Regions from separate parts of the Homo sapiens genome. Here region 2 is linked to region 1. The links are contacts of gene promoters, found by promoter capture Hi-C in blood cells and fetal thymus (Javierre and others, 2016). All regions are on one chromosome and are shown on one strand. Each heading gives the region's core, a stretch centred on a gene start or on the middle of the fragment in contact. The rest is flanking DNA. Distances are from core to core; before and after follow the strand shown. Region 1 holds the start of PIP4K2A (phosphatidylinositol-5-phosphate 4-kinase type 2 alpha). Region 2 holds the start of ARMC3 (armadillo repeat containing 3).

Region 1 (7,184 bases), core at 62-2,561:
ATCCCCGACTGTGCGTGACGCTAACCTTTCCACGCGTTCTCCAGCCTTTCCCACACCCCCCACAGCGGGTGCGGCCAACTCGGGACCCCCTCCGCCCGCGCCCGCCGGGACCCCCGCCTGCTGTCCCCGCCCCGGCCGCCCTTCCGCAGTCGGTGACTTCTGCCTGACTCCCCAAAGTGGGGGGAGGCGACGAAGGGAGGAAGACTCCCCGCCAAGGGCTCTCCAGCCCGCACAGCGGCAGGGCGATGCGGGAGAAGCGCAGGGATGCCGCCCGACGCCAGAGCCATATTTACATCGGCTGCTGCTTTGCCAAAAAGCCGACTTGTGCCCAGTAATATTGCCTTTAAAGGAAAAAGAAAGGACCTAAGCACTAAAGCTGCTGCCCCAAATCTGCTCGCGCTCCGGTATCCTCGCCCCAGTGCCCCAGTGGGAGGCTCGCACGCGCCCAGCCCGGGACAGGTACACCTGCCCGCAAGCGGAAGACGCGGGCGCCGCGCGGCCCCCACACCGGGTAGCGGTCGCCCGGACCCGGCCCCCAGCAGCTCCCGCCGGGGCTGACAGCCGAGGCGCCGTGCCCCGCACAAACTTCCTACCTCCCAGGCTGCGGGGACCGACCTGCGGGCGGGCGGGCGGACCGGGGGCGGCACTGGCACCCACCGTGAGACTCACATGCACACGGGACCCCCGACCCGCACCGGGCCATAGATCTAAAGGGGACGCAAGTGGTGGTGCCTGGGCGGCCCAGAGGGCTGGGGGCACGCGCCGCGGGGCTGGGGGCTTCGAGGCGGGCGAGCAGCCGGAGGTCCAGGGCTGACTCCGGCTCCCCGCCCCGCAGCAGCTGCAGCCGGAGGAGGAGGGGAACGAGGAGGAAGAGGAGGAGGAGGAAGGGGACCGCGCGCCGCAGCTGAGCCCTTACCGAGTGGTTTACCCCCCACATGAGGACGCTGAGCAGCGGGTCGCTGGCCCGAAACAGCTTCACTTTCTGCGCTACGAAGTGCTTCTTCTTGGTCTTGGTCTTGCTCGCCAGGACAGAGGACCCTAGGTTGCCGGGGGTCGCCATGGCCGCCTCCTATGTCCCCTCCACCGCCGTGCTCCCGAGGCCGGGGACCCGCCCTCTCTACACCCCGGCCCGGGGAGGCAGCCGCATCCCCCCGGCGGCGGCCCCGGCGCGCCGCGCTCCGCTCCGCCCGCCGCCGCCGGCGCGCTCAGCCCCACTCGGCTCGCTCCGCCCGCTCGGCCCGGCAGACTGCGCTCGGCTCGCGCCCCGGCCCGTATCCTGCGCCCGCCGCGGATCCGCGCTCAGCCCGCGGCTGGACCCGGCGCGCGGCGAGCGGCTTCCGCGTTGGGCGCCGGCGTCATGACGCAGGGGGCGGGCGGGCAGGCGGGAGGCGGCTGCGGCGCCGCGGGCGGGGCACTGGGTGCGGGGCGCGGGGCGCGGCAGCTGGACCGTTAGGCTGCGCCTTCCCGCCCCGGCTCCGCTGCAGCCGGGCCGCCCCCTGTGCGCGGGCGACCTCCGGGCGTTCGCTCCCTGCCCGCGGAGGAGGCCGTGGGTTGCGAGCGGGAGCCTGGGGACCCCGGCTAGGCGTCCCCTGCCGCTCCCCAAGGAGGGAGAGGACAGAGTGGGCAGAGTGAGGAGGTTGGGGAGAGGAGCCCCCAGGCGTCGATCAGGCGAAGGAGGGAGGCTCATGCACTCACCCACGCCACGAGTCAGGAGACCCAGCCAGGTGTGAAATGCTGCAGGGAGACCAGGGCTTCCCAGCACCGAGGGGAAGGACCCGGGCACATTGCCGGGTCAGTCCCTGAAATGAACTTAATACTTTTGTGCGGATAACCGTCTGGCCTTTCAGACCCTCGATATGGGCCTCCTGGAGCCATTCAAGAGGGAGACTCCCACGTAATAGGCTGGGCTGTCACTGCCAACCCACTCCGTGCCCGGGGCAGGAACCTCGGACCTCATCGAGAGCCCTTGGCTTAACCAGTAGAATCATGCCCCAAAGTGCACCTTCTTCCAATCCATCACTATGGTACTTGCCATCCCTGCCTGTTTTCCAGTGCACTCACCGTCCGTGGAAATCTGTTCACCGTCTTCCTCCAGATACACCTAAATGTAGCCCTTATTATGCTGAGAATACTTGGCCTACCTCAGGAAGCTGCCATTCCAAGTATGTCTAAAACCCTGCTGCCCCCATATCGTCCTTGCAGTCGTCATCCTGTGCTATTTACTCTGACCCAGCTCACCAGTCCTCACGGAGTAGGTTCTTGGAAACTGTCACCTTAAGCAAAACAACATATAACAAAACCAAATTTGCCATAGGCTGACATATAAAAAAAGAGTTAAGTTCCTACAGCATTATTTCCGGTTACAAAAACATCACCGAACTTCAAAGTAAAAATTCAAAACACTTCTAATATTAAACATTAAAATAAATGTGAGCTATACCTCTTTTTTATTTTTATTTTTTCCCTTGAGATAGGGTCTCGCTGTGTCAACCAGGCTGGGGGTGCAGTGGTGCAATCACAGCTCACTGCAGGCTCTACTTCCCCAGACTCAGGTGATTCTCCCACTTCAGACTCCCCAGTAGTTGAGACTACAGGCGCGCACCACCAAGCCTGGATAAACTTCTTGTATTTTTGGTAGAGATGGGGTTTCACCATGCTGCCCAGGTTGGTCTCGAACTCCTGGGCTTAAGGAATCTGCCCACCTTGGCCTCCTAAAGTGCTGGGAATACAGGCACCAGCCACTGCACCTGGCCTACCTACATTTTTTAAAGATTGATAAAAACAAGATAATGGTTTGCCAAATTTCTAGTGATTAAGTGAGCGATGGTTGCTGTGGTGCTGGGTTAAGTCAAGGAATAAGTGTTTGCAAAGCAAAAGTTGCCTGTAGGACCTGCTGCTACCATGAAATTCAAAAACAATCACAAATATGGTAGCTGAGTGCACTCCTATCTCATTTATTGTCGTGCATTTTTATGATTAATGTACACTTACATATTTTTATTTTACAGTCATTTGTTTCACGGATTTATTCATTTTTCCAACTCATTTATTCCAGTTCAAGGTCACAGATAGTGGGAGCCTTATCCCAGCTGCTCAGCTTGGGCAAAAGGTGGGAACCATCCCTGGATAGGATGCCATTCTGTTGCAAGACACACACACACACACACACACACACACACACACCACACACACACACACACACCCCTACACTCACTTAAACTGGGACCATTTAGGAAGGGGGCAGTGATTCATGCCTGTAGTCCCAGCACTTTGGGAGGCATGAGGCAGGTGGACTGCTTGAGCCCAGGAGTTGGAGACCAGCCTGAGCAATATGGTGAAACCCCATCTCTACCATAAATACAAAAATTAACCAGGCATGGTGGTACACACCTGTAGTCTCAGCTATTCTGGAGGCTGCAGTAGGCGGATTGCTTGAGCCCAGGAGTTGGAGGCTGCAGTGAGCTGTGATAATGCCACTACACTCTAGCTTGGGTAATAGATGGAGACCCCGTCTCTTAAAACAAAAAAAAAAAAAGAAAAGAAAAACTACTGGTATCATGTAGACAAGCCTATGAACTGAACGTGCATGTCTTTAAGATGTGAGAGGAAACCAAGGTACCCAAAGAAAACTCTTGCAGGCACGAGGAGAACCTGCAAATACAAACAGTGGTCCCGGCTAGAAATCCATTTTTTTCTCATCAACATTATAACAAAACAACATTGAACAAAATGACAGTATTTGAGGACCCGCTGTAAGTTGTCTGTTGTCATTATTACTCCACTCAAATATAGTAGATACCTTCTGTGCCCTTGGCAGACTGCTTGGTCCTGTCAGGGAGATGAAGGATGACAGGCCATTATCCCTTTAGGATCTTGAGTCTCCTCAGGGGTTGAGGGGAGGTCATGTGGTCACCTTCATTTGCTCCTATTCTTTCTTTGACTGTTTTTTAAGTCCCCTCGTCGTAATTTCCTGCTTGCTTTCATCCAAAATGATATCTGCTTCTCCAGCATCAACCATCACTGCTCTTAGTGGTTTAAAAAAGCCCAAAACCTAAATTTTTAGTGAGACATCACGGGGACTGAGCTGTAGCTCTCCCACTTACTTGAGCAAATCACTTAACCTCTCCCAGCCTCGGGTTCTTTATGTTAACAGTAACTATCATCAGACACAAATGTCACTTTAGGAACTATTTTGAACCTAGTAATATAATCCTCCCCTACCTACATTATAGGATGTTTGTTAGAATCAAAATCAATAGTAGATAATGGCAATGAAAACCCTTTGTAAACCAGACAACACAATAGAAAATGTAGAGTGCTTGCAAGTAACTCATAAACTCTTCCCCGACCCCAGAGAAATGCCTGGTTGCACATTTGTACATCATTTTTCCACAGGCATCTTTTAAAAGTGTCTAAAACCATCTGGGCATGCTGGCTGATGCCTGTAATCCCAGCACTTTTGGGACGCCAAGATGGGAGAATCACTTGAGCCCAGGAGTTCAAGGGTAGCCTGGATATAATAGCGAGATCTCATTTCTACCAAAAAAAAAAAAAAAAATTTAAATTAGCTGCACATGGTGGTATGCATCCTGTGGTCTCAGTTACTTGGGAGGCTGAGGCAGGAGGATCACTGAGGCTGCAGTGAGCTATGACTGCACCACTGCACTCCAGCCTGGGCAACAGAGCAAGACCCTATCTCAAAAAAAAAAAAAAAGATATCTAAAGCCAAGTTTGACATCTTTCCCCATCCACAAGTTACTTTATTTCTTGTATTATATTGGAAATGGCATTCATATCACTCGGTTACCCCAGCTGGAAGTTCTTTTATTTAACAAATTTTCATTGGCCAGGCTTGAAGGCTTACCATCATCATCAATTATTGCCTTTCACCACCACCCAACCTAAACTCCTTTATTGGATCCTGCCCTTGAAAACAATTAGACTCAAAAATCCTCTCTTCCCTGATGCTTTCCTGATCCTCCTAATTCAAATTCATCCTTCCACCTCAGTGCTTCCATAGCATTTATTTGTTTCATAATAGCTATATTATACTTAATTTTATATTAATAATGCAAGACAATAGGCTTGCTGCAACTGCCAAAAAACTGAATTTAGTGATGACAGAGTGCTGAATGACCCTAGAGGAAGAGGGGATGGATACCTGTTGTTAGGAGAGGCTCCGCCTTAGGAAAGCAGCAATCTGTGGGTGGGTGCAGAGGCCAATAGCACCATGTGAGGGACAGATAGGGGCATAGTGTGGTATTTTTAGGTAGTTATGAGGAGACTTGCAGGTTTCAAAGGACAGAATTTCTGGTGATTTAACATGTTTTGAAAGCCATCTAACACAATACCATTCACAAATACATCATTAAATTATTTATTTATTTATTTTATTATTTATTTTTTTTGAGACAGGGTCTCACTCTGACACCCAGGCTGGAGTGCAGTGGCAAGAACACAGCTCACTGCAGCCTTGAACTCCTGACCTCAAGCCATCTCCTGCCTTATTAAATGATTTTGCCAATAACCTTTCACATTAGCTTTGTGCTCTGTGGAGGGTATGTGTGATGCAAGAGTTCTAGAGTCACAGAAATGACCTTAGCTCACGCCTGTCATCCCAGAGCTTTGGCAGGCCAAGGCAGGAGGATCGCTTGAGCCCAGGAGTTTGAGGTTACAGTGAGCTCTGATTGTGCCACTGCACTCCAGCCTGGGCAACAGAGTGAGACCGTCTCTAAAAATAAGAAAGAAAAGGAAAGAAGAACAAAGTGACCTCAAAATGTGTAATCCAATTCTCAAATTGTATGCATTCGATAGACAATTGATATCTAGAGAAATGTAATAAGTAATTTCTTGGGCAATAAGAAACTTTGAAGGCAAGGACCATGGTGTACCCACTTCTAGGGCGTCTCAGTGAACCCTGAATACTCCCTTTCCCATAGCACCCGTGGTGAAATTTTGGTGAATAAAGAAAAAAGGAATATTTTATCTCTCATAACAAAGTTACATGTAAAGTTTGCGTAGCCAGAAAATGTTTTGTGCAAGGTTCCATTCAGAAATACTTTGTTAGGAAATTAGGCTAGACATAATATTTAAACTCGAGGGCTAGATACTACATGCGGACTTAGCCACCTAGCAATTTGATCGCTGTTTTCCTTTGGGGTTTGCATGCTAATGAGACAAAGTGTATGTCCTGCTTGTTCTTGGTTCAGCCCACCTGGTTCAAGCTGCTTACCTTGTCAAGCTGCCAAACCATCAACATTCGCCAAAGGTCTGGAAGAGAGGCATAGATCTTCCTTCTCTAGGAGGAAGATCAAGGGAGTGTGACTTCAAGAAGAGCATGTGGTTGTGTCAGTCAAGAAGAATGCCATGCCCTCCTCAACAGCCACATCCTTTTGCATTTGGCCTGGTGGGATGTTACACATCCAGATGGCAAAGCCATCACAAATGGAAGAAAGGCTCCAGCAGCCAAGTTCACTAAGAAGAAAGAAGGACATGTCAAGAAGATTTAAAACGTTCCCAATACTGACTTGGTTTTATTTATTTATTTATTTATTTATTTATTTATTTATTTATTTCTGAGATAGGGTCTCACTCTGTGCCCCAGGCTGGAGTGCAGTGGCATAATCATGGCTCATGGCAACCTCAACCTCCTGGGCTCAAGTGATCCTCTTGCCTCCCACCTCCCTAATAGCTGGGACTACAGGTGCACACCACCATGCCCAGCTAATTTTTGTATTTTTTTGTAGAGACAAGGTCTCACTGTGTTGCCCAGGCTGGTCTGGAACTCTTGGCCTCAAGTGATCCCCGTCCTTCGCCTCCCGAAGTGATGGGATTATAGGCGTGAACCACTGTGCCCAGCCCCCAATACTGACTTGTTTATGCTTCTTGTTGTTGTGGTTTTGTTTTTGCTTACATTTACTATAATCAACTTTATTTAGTATCTTTATTTAGTATAAATAACTTTATTTAGTATAAAACTACATGGTGTAAATATTATGTTGCCTAAGGTATACAAGACCAGAAGTAGAGGTCGAATAGGGTAGATGCTCTGATTTTTTATATTACCCTTTTTAATAAAAAAATACTATCAATCGAATAATTCCAATTCTTCCTTGAGAAAAGGGAAGTGGTAGCTTTTTTGACTTAGTGCTATTTGGAAGCTTTGTGCTTTTCCTTGCTTTATG
Region 2 (6,856 bases), core at 13-2,512, 210 kb after region 1:
GACCATGGAAAACTGAATACAAATAATTGTTATAAAGCTGTTTATCAGGCAATTTAAATGGTGAGAAGAGAACATAAGATATATAAAAGTAGCAATTATAAGAAGCATCTATCATTCTTAGGACTGGGAGACCAACAGGGGCCGGTAGGAGACGGAATTTGCAAAGTCTAAGAGGAGAGGGAGAGACTTTTTGCTAAAGGCAATCAAAAAATATTTTATGAAGATGGCATTTGAGCTGGGCTTAATTAAGTGGAAATGAGAGAATATTTCAGGTATTGCACATGACCTGGGAAATAGAAGCTACTTTATAAATATTTGTTGAAAAATGAAGTGATGAACAGATAAGCAAGAAAATCTAGAGAAAAGTGTGGAAAATTTCGGGAACAGTAAGTTTGGCTGGAGCTTGGATGGTGGAGATCGGTTGAAAATGTGGTTGCACAGATGGAGTAGAGATGGAGCAGACGGTCTTAAATTCCAGGCCAATGTGTTGAAAATTTATCTTAGGAAGCCGCTGACATTTGAGTAGGGAAGTGACAAGACTGGAACGATGATTTCTGGATGGCCGATTTGCCTGTGATACGTAGAAAGAACTGTAAGCAGAGAGCAACTGAATTTCTCAGCCAGAAGGCCAAAAAATGACGAGCTGGATTGAAGTGACAATAAGGATATGAGAAAGGGAACAAGCAGGAAACAAAATGTAAGCCGCCAAGAAGTGGCTGAAGTGATGACTGTGGTTGGGGGGCATGGGAGGAAGAAGGGAAATTGAAGCTCCTTCTGAGTCTAGGCAATTGGAAGAATGGCAGGAAGAGGAAAGAAAGAGGAAGAGAACGGGGCTTTGAAGGGCCATGAGAAGTTCTGTGGAAACGGATTGGACATCCTAGTGCAAAGAGATGTGGCAGTGCAGGTCTGCAGCTTAACGGAGCCTGGGCAGGAGGTGGCTGATGTGGGTTTCATCTGCATAGAGATTCCGGCTGACGCCTCTATTTGGAAGAATGCAATAGTATTTGCGTATTTGAACCCACAGCCAGTCCTTGGGCCAGAAACTGAGGCTGAACTGCCTCTTGATTTACAGCTTCCACCCCCAGTTTCCATTCTCCCCTAAAGCACTGGATTCAGGTAATCGCGGACGCACTTGGCTCCTCCCGCACTGGCCGCTGCCCTCGGCGGGACAATGGGCGCCCTAGCAGCCCCGAGCGTTCCCAGGGCGCAGGCGCGGCGCGGCGTGGCGTCGCCTAGCAACGAGGCACAACAAGGGACTGGGGGTTCGTCTGCTGGGTTTGCGGAGCAGCTAGCTACTCGGCGGGATCTCCCGGCAGGTAAAGGTAACCCCGTGGGGTGGGGAGGCCCAAGGCAGAGGCCTGAGGAAAACCTGGGAAAGGAGAAGGTGCCACGTGGGCGCAGACTGCTTGGGTCAGTGAGGCAACACCTTGCTGGGCGTTGTTAGTTTCTGCCTCGCGCCCGCAGGGTTAGACGGGGCTTGGGGTGGGTTTCGTAAGCATCCCGCCACCTCCCATTCAACAGGTGACAAAACTGAGGCCCGAGAGGGGATCTGAGGTGAGATCAAGTCAGATTCCGTTACTTGACTGTGAGCAACTCAGAAGTGGCCTCGATTTCTTGAGCCCTCCTCCTCTTTAAATCTTCTCAAAGCAGAACTCATTAGAAAATATTTAAAATCATAGGCTGAACGTTCACGAAGAACAAATACAAAGGACCAATCAACTCGTGAAAAAAAAAATGGCTCCAGTAGTCAAGAAGATGCATTTTTAGAGCAGAGTTGTTTGCATATCCAATGCCCTGAAGTTTTCACCCAGTTAATTTACTGCTAGAGATTTATCCTAAAGAAATAGTTGGGGATAATGGATGAAAATTTTATGTCCAAGGACGTTCTTTCAGCCCTGTCCATATTTCCAGAAAATTAGAAACAAATTTCAACAATCAGAGACTGGCTAGATAGCTAAGGGATTTTAAAATATTTGTAATGGCATGTTATGCTAATCCACTGGAGATTATTAAAGCAATGAAGGGAAACTGAGACTTCATGAATTTATTTGTTAATATAAGAATTTAGTAGGAATATGAACCCAGGAAGGGAAGGTGAAAGTAGGGGATAGAAGTTGAGGCAGGATGTTAAAATCACTTTAGAAAAACACACAAAGCCAGGTACGGTGGCTCACGCCTACAACCCCAGCACTTTGGGAGGCTGAGGCGGGTGGATCGCCTGAAGTCAGGAGTTCGAGACCAACCTGGTCAATGTGGGGAAACCTGTCTCTACTGAAAATACAAAAATTAGCCGAGCGTGGTGGCGGGTACCTGTAATCCCAGCTACTCAGGAGGCTGAGGCAGGAGAATCTCTTAAACCTGGGAGGTGGAGGTTGCAATGAGCCAAGATCAGGCCACTCTCCAGCCTGGGCAACAGAGTGAGACTCTGTCTCAAAAAAGAAAAAGAAAAAGAAAAAAAGAGAAGAGAGAGAGAGAGGGAGAGAGAGAGAGAGAAAGAGAGAGAGAAAGAGAAAGAAAAAGAAAAAGAAAGGAAAGGAAAGGAAAGGAAAGGAAAAGAAAAGAAATAGTATTGATCTCTCTGAGCTTATCTTTGGGTGATTTTTATTTTATTCGTTGTGCCCTTGTTTTCCAAATTCTCCACAGTGAAATGTATTACCCTTGTAAGGATCATCTCCATAGCTCATTGCCACCGACCTATGTCAGCTGTTCAGTCTCTCCTCCATTAACTATCATACCCAATATGGTGATAAAACACATAGGCTTTTTTTGGGGGAGGAGACAGAGTCTCGCTCTGTCACCCAGGCTGGAGTGCAATGGGGTGATCTCAGCTTATTGCAACCTCCGCCTCCCGGCCTCAAGCAATTCTCCTGCCTCAGCCTCCCCAGTAGCTGGGAATGCAGGCACATGCCACCGCCACTCCAGGCTAATTTTTGTATTTTTAGTAGAGACAGAGTTTTGCCATGTTGTCCAGGCTGGTCTTGAGCTCCTGACCTCAGGTGATCCACCCGCCTCAGCCTCCCAAAGTGCTGGGATTACAGGAGTGAGCCACCACGCCGGGCCATGATAAAACACATAGGCTTTTAACTTCATTCTTTAGCTTAGGAGACACTCTATCATTGCAATACTGTCTGTGTAAGCTCTTCTAACCTCTGCACTATGCAATTGCTCAAAAACACTATCCTGAAGTAGGAAAAATTAGTTCCTAAGTGAAAATCAGATGATTTAAAACAACTTTATGCAGGTGTAATTAAATTGCTTCCTGAATATTATTCATAAGCAATTATTTTATAAATCAAAGGCTGCTCTGTCTTGGAATTGGTTATAGAGTGCTATAAACTCTCTCTTTTTTTTTTCCTAGAGATTAATTGTAGGATAGATTCTCATTTGCCCAGAATAGTTTCTGCCTCTCTGCCTGAAATATTATAGGCACAAGGTCTAGGGCCTGTTCACTTTTCAAGCACCTAAGGAAGATGTTTGAGATTTGAAAAAAATGCTTATATTGGCTCTAAAATATGAAAAGAGAACTGAAAAATTAGTGTTAATTAAATGTTTTATTAATATAAATTTTTATTACATTTGAAAACAATTTTCTCATTTTACAAGAATTTCCAGGTGTATGTACTGATTGCTGAGTAATTTCAAATACAAATTTCAAAAGTTTTTATGATGCAAATGACATTTAATGGGCGATGCAGGCACATTTTAACATTTTAATATATTGGCTATTGTGTGAATAAGCTTGCCCAGGCCCTCCAAAGTCTTAAAAGTAGTGTGGTCTGAAGTTAGAGACCTAGAATAAATGCCTTTCAGAAGTATCTAGGAGTTTCTATGAAGACGTGGCTTTTTAATGTATGTGATAAATTCTGGTCAGTGTCTCTAATGCTAGGAGTTGCTTTTGACCCTTGACATGCAATTTGAGCTAACCCTGACACTGTAGATTCTCCCCAAGGATTTTCTACTTCCTAGGATTTCTACTGAGACTATGGTAATTTCCTTAAGGCTATGATATACCGTTTAAGATTGCTCCTACGATATACCGTTTAAGATGGCCCTGATGTCAAACATAATTCCACAAACTCTCACTGAAGAAAACTAGATAGATTTCCTGGGTTATTCTAATAGACATTAACATCTTGAAAAGTTTCTTTTTTTTTTTTGAGACAGTCTCACTCTGTTGCCCAGGCTGGAATGCAGTGGTGCGATCTCGGCTCACTGCAGCCTCCGCCTCCCGGGTTCAAGTGATTCTTGTGCCTCAGCCTCCTGAGTAGCTGGGACTACAAGGCACGTGCCACCACACCCGGCTAATTTTTGTATTTTTAGTAGAGACAGGATTTCACTGTGTTGGCCAGGATGGTCTTGAACTCCTGACCTCGTGATTCGCCCACCTCGGCCTCCCAAAGAGCTGGGATTACAGGCGTGAGCCACCTGCCCGGCCTGAAAAGTTCTTTGAACCCAGGCTGGTTACTCCTCTGTGGTATGTTAACTATGTATAAATTCCATTCCTTTCACTTTTTCCACACAGACATGGACATATGAGGACAAGTGGAAAGGAAGTAACCTCAGTTTCCCCAGAATATATCTCTTCAGATTTTTTAATTGCTTTTTTACTAAGCTGTGGATTATGAAAGAAAACTTTTTGTTATCCGGGCAAAGGACACAAATGTTGATTCAAGACCTGGTAGATTTTGTATACCATTTATGAGATCATTACTCCTAGGAAAAATGGAGTTAATGAGGTTTATAAATATCAAATGCCAATTATGTACCAGACACTGTTGTAGGTATTTAGGATAGATCAGTGCAAGAAAATAGACAAAAACCTCTGCCTTTGTGGCACAAACATTCTTGCAGGTCTCAAAAGTAACTTGGTGGGCTTAGTCTCTTAAGCCCATCATAAGCAAGCTATAAAAATGGTAAATGATTTCTTGTTATTTAAGTTATGCCACTAATATATTCACCTCCTTTCTAAACTGAAAGCCAGGACTAACACTCAATGATCTTATCAATAAGTTCCTTAAAATTGCAGAGTTTGAAATTGGGATGTAGGTGACATATTTGTACATATGTGATAATTTTTACATGTATTGCATTGTGTTTTAGGAGGTAAAAATTTAAAGGAGAAAATAAACCTCCTCTCAAGGGCACAGGTAATTGAGAAATGTATGTGCAAATGTCACTTTAACCATATATTGCATCTTTTTCCAGGATGGGTAAAAAGATAAAGAAGGAAGTAGAGCCTCCTCCTAAGGATGTGGTAAGTTTCTGATTTGAATACTAGTAGCACTTTAACAACCAGTTATAAAAATAAATTGTTCACACAGTTTGGCATGTACCAGTATATACATGAATACGCGGTGGCAGAAGTCCAAAGTCTGACTAATGATAAGATTAGTCAGAGAAATCTAACATTACATAAACAAACATTTACAACATTGTCATTATATAATTAGCACAATTAGAGAGTAATTATTAGCTTTTCCAGTATGTAGATGGCATGTTTATAGCATAGTTAATGAATAAATAGTTTGGGTTGTTCTTTTAAATACTTACCATTTACATTTGCCAGCCTCTCATTTATGTTAATTAATCAAGTGAATTTTCAAAAATAACTGGAAGTTCTGCTATAGCTATTAGATATGTATATAAGGTTGTCTGGTGATGACCACTGCACGTGAGAAGTCCCTATCCTTTCCAGTTCTATCGAGAGACTAGTCTGGCATCATCATTTTTATTCCAAATGCTAAGTAATTCATTCCCCACTGAAAGCTCTTCTCTGTCTTTAAAAACAGGATTTTATCTTCTCTCTTTAAACTTTATCAATTATTGAAAGGTTGTGTTAAAAGTGAAAAATGACCTTGGACAATTTGCAGTTTAGAAACTTATTTTGAAACAGACATTTGGTGTGATTTCCTTCAGATAAATCAGGAATAGAAAAGAAATAAGTGGAGTCCACAGACTCACAGCAATTTCAAATTTGAAGGAAACTGGGCTAATGGCAGAAATCTGCCCCCTTGGGAGCTTTGTGGTTAAGACACTGGGGGCCTTGAGCCAGCTCTGCCTCTTACCAACTGTGTCATTGTGGCCAATTTGCCAAATTTGGCCAAGTTATTTCGGTTTTTCTTTAGCTCCTAAATGGGAATCATAATATCAAACTCGTTCCCGTTGTTGTATGAATTAAAACAAAATAAGTTACATAAAGGTCTTAGTGCTTGGCACGTAGCACTTGGAAAATAAGATCTATTATCATGAGAATCCTCTGGACTCTGCTTCTGAGACACACAAACACACACTTGCACCCCTGTGCAATCCACTGGGTATGATACTTCAATACAGTTGGGAACAAAATCTACAGAAGTGCCTGTCTTCCCGGGTCCAGGAAGGCTTTGCAGGGGTAGACATTGTGATCTCATGATGTTTCATCATTCTGGCTGCTTCTCTTAGGACATATTCCTAAAATGTTGCAGATTCTCTTATTTTTTTTTTCATTGCATCCAAGGTTTGTATCACTCCCCTTTTTGCTACCAAATAGCATTAATGGCATCTGATTAGCAAAAACATATTCTAATAAAAATTAGAATTACGGGGCTAATAAACAATAGATGTATATGGCTAATACACTTTCTATAACTTCATAATGTCTTGCTGATATTGTCCTCTGGACTCCAATCCTTGGGGACACAATGGAGAACTTGAGAAACACAGTCCTAGCATTAACAAAATAGAACTCCTGCTTCCTCAGCTCCCAACAGCCTTGGAGGTAGCCAATGGCGGGTGTAACATTGACCAATGGTCCTTACTTTTCCCTGCCTTTCCCAGGGGACTTCTACTCTGACTATAAAACTGACAGAGTGTTGGG

What was found. The method cuts DNA at HindIII sites, captures the fragments that hold promoters and counts their contacts. A CHiCAGO score of 5 or more calls a contact.
Region 2: a contact is called between the fragment with the promoter of ARMC3 here and the fragment with the promoter of PIP4K2A in region 1, in 16 of 17 cell types (M2 macrophages, total CD8 T cells, naive CD8 T cells and 13 more). The highest score is 13.8, in M2 macrophages.

What each region holds. Positions count from the first base shown.
Region 1 is chr10:22,713,267-22,720,450 of GRCh38, forward strand. It overlaps PIP4K2A (phosphatidylinositol-5-phosphate 4-kinase type 2 alpha), which reads right to left and starts at 1,312. Exons shown (of 10, transcript NM_005028.5): 1 at 917-1,312. The coding sequence starts at 1,060. RefSeq lists silencers at 48-157, 458-577, 748-827, 1,128-1,797 and enhancers at 958-1,566, 1,567-2,174. The HindIII fragment of the contact is 12,209 bases long and covers 1-7,158 here.
Region 2 is chr10:22,926,791-22,933,646 of GRCh38, forward strand. It overlaps ARMC3 (armadillo repeat containing 3), which reads left to right and starts at 1,263. Exons shown (of 19, transcript NM_173081.5): 1 at 1,263-1,316; 2 at 5,206-5,254. The coding sequence starts at 5,207. The HindIII fragment of the contact is 5,434 bases long and covers 1-3,736 here.